Regions from separate parts of the Homo sapiens genome. Here region 1 is linked to region 2. Evidence: promoter capture Hi-C in 16 types of primary human blood cells and fetal thymus (Javierre and others, 2016). All regions are on one chromosome and are shown on one strand. The core of a region is centred on a gene start or on the middle of the fragment in contact, and the rest is flanking DNA. Distances in the headings are between cores, read along the strand shown. Region 1 overlaps NEO1 (neogenin 1). Region 2 holds the start of CELF6 (CUGBP Elav-like family member 6).

The links. The method cuts DNA at HindIII sites, captures the fragments that hold promoters and counts their contacts. A CHiCAGO score of 5 or more calls a contact.
Region 1: a contact is called between a fragment that was not itself captured here and the fragment with the promoter of CELF6 in region 2, in 1 of 17 cell types (endothelial precursors). The highest score is 5.9, in endothelial precursors.

Annotation. Positions count from the first base shown.
Region 1 is chr15:73,080,066-73,082,765 of GRCh38, forward strand. The region is part of intron 1 of NEO1 (neogenin 1); the gene reads left to right. Among named protein-coding and RNA genes, the nearest start is that of NEO1, 29 kb to the left of the region's middle. The HindIII fragment of the contact is 2,772 bases long and covers 47-2,700 here.
Region 2 is chr15:72,318,733-72,321,432 of GRCh38, forward strand. CELF6 (CUGBP Elav-like family member 6) reads right to left here and starts at 1,425. Exons shown (of 13, transcript NM_052840.5): 1 at 881-1,425. The coding sequence starts at 1,142. RefSeq lists silencers at 1,112-1,451, 1,512-1,561. The HindIII fragment of the contact is 9,541 bases long and covers 1-2,700 here.

The sequences.
Region 1 (2,700 bases), core at 183-2,682, 760 kb after region 2:
GGGAAAACTGTTCCTGGGGGAGACCTACAAATAATTGATGGCAATAAGCTTCAGGAGTATGAAAGAAGTGGATGAGTATGCCTTTCCCCCATTGATTCCACTCACATTTTTTCTTCTCTGTGCTTTGCTCTCTTGTTGCCATTAGACAGTTTCTATCTGTCCTTAATTTTAGCCAGTTTGTTCTAAAGTAACTGTGAACACTGTAACTCTCTAGCCAGTGCCTTTCTTTTATTGAATGGAATTGGTGTACTAGTTGTTTTATTTAACAAACAGAGTTTATAGGCTTGTTTTTTCCTCAACATGTCTTCATGGCAGAGACAATTTACCCTTAAGTTGGTGAGCCCTGGATCCCCTCACTTGCATAGACCTCTTCTAGGATCTGGGAGAGGCTCTAGCAGTGTAGTGTGTTTGTTAGTTACATATTTTTGTAACATTTGCAAAATTGAAAAATTTTTTTCCATTTTTTTTTTTCTTCAAAAAGGCCCTCAAATTATATATGCTTCAAATTTCACAAAACTCAGGTCAGCCTTGGTTCATGGTAGAGGTTGGGTGTTGATTTCTAATTGTGGCCGAGGTAGATTTGGTTAGTGGATTAAAGGACATGAGGAAGGAAGCATTAGTGAGGAAGTTGAACCATTGACTGGTGTGTATAGTGGCCAGGGATCTCTTTCTGAGTGTCAGGGGTCATCTCTTCTCCCTGCAAACATGGGCCAGAAAGAGGCGGGAGAAGTTGGGTAGGACTGGAAGAAGGACAGTGGAGGGAAAGGTGTGCTGCAGCCAAGGTGGTAAACAAATTAAGGTGTTCTCCTTAGATTTCAAGGATGCATTTGCAAATAGCGTTTTCAATAGCATTTTAAAATAACTGAAGAGTCATTTCAAGATAATATATTTCATCTTGATAATAATACATTTTAAGAATTTTAGAATTATTGAAAAATTTGAAAAGTCAATTTCATAATTAACTGATTGACTTGAGATTAAAGTCTTTATCTTATTAATTAGAATATATTGCTGAACACATAAAACACAGACATGTTCATTTTTGAAGGGCGTTGCTGTAACTTGGGTTTTGCTAGCTTCTTGGTTTGGTAGATGTTTCATCTCTCTCCCCTTTTTCTCATTGTCTCACCTGTATTTTTTTCTACCTTTTCATTTCATGTTCCCTTTACTTTGGGATTCAAACTCCTCTTAGACTTCTCAGGATTTTGAATGACTGGACTATAGATAATCACATTTTAAAACTGCATTTTAATATTCTGTTCTCTTTAAAGAAAATTAGGTACTCTGCATGGCCTGGGGACAAATTTACAGTTAAATAGAAGTATAATGTTCTGAGGGCCAATTGTAACTACCCTGTGGTTAACTGGCTCAGGTTCAAATACAGTTAAAATTATTTTACTTTTCCTAAAATTCCTTCTAATTGGACTAACTTATCAGGGTTGATAAAAACATTTCCAGAACGTAGTATGGATCTGCCACCTGGTGGTGAAATATTACAGCAAGTACTAAGTGTTTTGTTTTTTTTTTTCTGAGACAAGGACTCACTGTCACCCAGACTGGAGTGCAGTAGCACCATCACAGCTCACTGTAGCCTCGACCTCCTGGACTCAAGCAATCTTCCCACCTTAGCCCCCAGAGTAGCTGGGACCATAGGTGCATGCCACCACACCTGGCTAATTTTTAAAGTTTTTGTAGAGATAGGGTCTCACTATGTTGCCCAGGCTGGTCTTGAGCTCCTGTCTCAGCCTCCCAAAGTGCTGGCATTACAGGTATGAGCCACCACACCCAGCCAAATACTAGTATTTTTTTTTTTTTTTTTGAGATGGAGTCTTGCTCTGTCACCCAGGCTTGAGTGCAGTAGCCCAATTTTGGCTCACTGCAACCTCCGCACTCCCTGCTCCGGGCCCAAGTGATTCTCCTGCCTCAGCCTCCCGAGTAGCTGGGACTACAGGCATGCACCACTGCATCCAGCTAATTATTGTATTTTTAGTAGAGATGGGGTTTTGCCACATTGGCCGGACTGGTCTCGAGCTCCTGACCTCAGGTGATCTGCCCAACTCGGCCTCCCAGAGTGCTGGGATTACAGGCATGAGCCGCCACGCCCAGCCTAAATACTTGATAAGAATTTAATAATGGATTCTTGCCTTTGTGGCCATAATATTTAGAGTCGAGTCTACTTAAGCTCTTTAGATATGTAACATTTTCCTCCCCTAAGTTTTTTTCACTGAGAAAATGTTACTTAAATGCGATAGAGTAGGTAAATTTTGACTGATGTGTTTCTGTCTACCGCATCGTAATATAAGATGACATTTGTAGAATTACTGAGCTGAAATAAATTCTGCACACATTGAGAATGTACTCTCCTTAAATTTGAAGATGAGCTTTTGAGAAGAGAAGATTGCTGTTAATTTTTCTAAAATTTCAATGTGGATAGTCATTGATTCACAGAAAAAACAGTAATATGAAGTTCACAGAACAAAGAAAAAACAGTAAGATGAAGTTCACAGAACAAAGGATTTTTTTTTTTGGAAAGAAAGCATTTTGTTTATTCACTTAAAAATATTAGCAGGCATATTAAAACTACTTTTAGCAAATAGACTAACAGTTTTATCACCCTCAAATGAATTATTAATACATATCAGTATTTTATATATGGGCACTGTGTTAGGTATACATGATAAAATAGTGAAAATAAAAATG
Region 2 (2,700 bases), core at 175-2,674:
GACTGGGACCAGCCTGTGAGGGGAGGGAAAGAAAGAGGCCATAAAGAGGACTGGGGAGGAGCAAAGAAGAGGCACAGGAGTGAGGGGATTAGAGAAGGAAAGAAGTGTGGATTTAGCTGAGAGAAATCCAAGAAGAAAGGGACACAGGGTGGCAGGAGTTCCCAGCTGAGGTCAGGGTTCTGAACTGAAATCAAAAGAGGTAGAGTGCATTGGGATTCTGGCGAAGGGCAGGAGAGATTGGGGCTGTTGTTGAACATGAGGGGGTGTCTGGAACTGAGAGCCTCCTGGGAATTGAATTGGATTTTGTGTTAGACAGGTCTGGGTTCTGAAGAAGGGGAGGGTTTGGGTCTGCGGTGTTTTAGGTTGGCAGTCTGAGAGTCAAAAGAAGGCTCTTGAGGGGGATGGCCGGACTAGGAGGCCAGAGGAGGGGTGCAAGTCCAAGATATGCATGTGGGTGGTTAGGCCTGAGTGAGGTGCCACCAGATGGAGGATTCAGGAGTGTTTGGGCTCAGGGTTTGGGAAATTGAGGGTATTCGAGATCTAGAAGGTGGAATAAGTTTTCAAATTCCAGAATTTTAGGTCTGATGGGAGAGGTGGTGGAAAGGTCCAATTGAAAGGCAGGGACTGCTGGGATGTGAGAGGTGGAGGCCAGGAATTTGGAGGTTAGAGTGGAGAACATGTTAGGGGACCACAGTGATAATCAGAGGGAGGATGTCAGAGAGAAAATTCTGTGATCTGGGAAGGGGGCTGGGCTGAGGTGGGGCTGATATTGGACTGGTGTTGGACTGGCTCTCGGCAGGGCTAGGGCTGGGGCTGGGCTGGGGTCGGGCCACACTCTAATCGGATTGGGGCTGGGCTGGGCTGGGCTGACCCCGCGCACCTTTGTGGAGGCCGGTGAGCCGGTCCTTCAGCACCGTCAGCTCGTAGATGCGGCCGAACTCCTCGAACAGCGGCTTGAGGTCCTGCTCGTCCAAGCCCCGCGGGATCTGCCCCACGAAGAGCTTGATGGCGTCGTGGTCCTTCATGGGTACGGCGGGACCGGGGTTTAGCCCGCTCATGCCGACGCCGCTGTCCGCGGTGCTGAAACCCAGGCGCGGGCCGGGGCCAGCGGGCTGCGCTGACCCTCCCGGCGCCGCGGCCATGTCCCCGCCCTGTCAGCCCTCCCGCCGGTCCCACTGGTCCCGCCTGTCCCGCCGTCCCCTCCCTGGACCGGTGGCGAGGGCCAGGGGGAGGGGGCGGAGCCCGGGCGGAGAGGGCGGGGGGCTGCCCAGGGGGCGGGGTCCGGGTGGAGGGGCGTAGAGGGGGTGGGGCGGGCAGGAAAGGGGCGGGGCCGGGGCGGGGCGGGCCCGGGCCGAGGTGGCGGCTGAACGCTGGGGTCTGGCTTGAGGTCCCCGTGCGGCTCTCTCTGGGCTCCCGCCCGAGCTCTCCCAGAGCCGAGCCCCGAGCCCCAGCCCCCGTGCTTGGTGACGTCAGGCAGCTGGCCGCCGAGTCTACGCAAATGATTTGCATAATGAGGAAGCAGCCGCCAATCAGAGTGGGAGTTGACTGGGCTCGCCGGGGGCGGGGGGGGCGGCTGGGCTCACGCGCTCCTGCTCGCCATGGCAACCGGACCCTCGAATGCCCTGTGTGTGTCGAGTGTGTGCGGGCGTGGCCGTGGATCGCGCGTGTGCGCCTTGGGCCGCGTGAGGGGAAGCAGCTTCGTCATGCGTGATGGTGTCTGCCGGAGTCGGGGCTAATCCCCACCGCACACACAGGCACACACAGGCAAACGCAGGCACACGCAGGCACACACACCTCCAAACGCTGGTGCGTTTCCTGCGGGGGTGGATGGGGATTCCTCTTCTCTATTCCCACTATCGAGCCAGTCCCTCGGAGCCAATCCCACCCCGCCCCATCACACATCTCTGTCTTCGGTGTCTTTAACCACTTTCTTACCCCTGAGCCTCAGACACATTCGTCTCCCTTGCAGCCTTAAAAAGAAAGGAAGAATAAAATAAAAACCCCTTAAACACTCCTTGAACACGGATTCCTCCTTAGGAGAGTGAGGGAACTTAGCCGTATTTACTCAGAACCCATTATGCACCAGGTGCCCAGTTCATCCCAGTTCTGTGAACTCAGGAGTGTTCTCTTTTTCCGGAAAAGGAAGCTGAGGTTCTGAGGGTCGAGGATGTTAGGGCCAGGCCCACCCCAACATTTGTTGGGCCCAGCGCAAAATAAGAAATGGAAATCGACATACTGTGCATCTAAACATTTAAAAGATACAAATCAAATTACAATTTGTTAAATATGTTCCCCTCTTATTTTCACAAATACAGGTTCAGAATTACGAAAATGAAAGACATATGTACAGCTACGCTTTCTATATGACTGAAAGTTGGCAAAATATCAGAGCTGATGGAATTTTATTACTCCTGCACATGTCTAGGTATTCTCTTGATGGATCAGTGATGTTTGCACAAAGTAGTAATACAATGTTTGGACAAAGACACATACTTCATAAATTATATATTTATTCCATAATATATTTTTCATGCCTCTTTCAGTAAAATTGCTAATTATTTTAATAGAGATTTCCTTTTTTTTTTTTTGATAGGTTATCATTCTGTCACCCAGGCTGTAGTGCAGTGGTGCGATCTAAGATCACTGCAGCCTCAACCTCCTGGGTTCAAGCGATCCTCCCACCTAAGCCTCCCAAGTAGC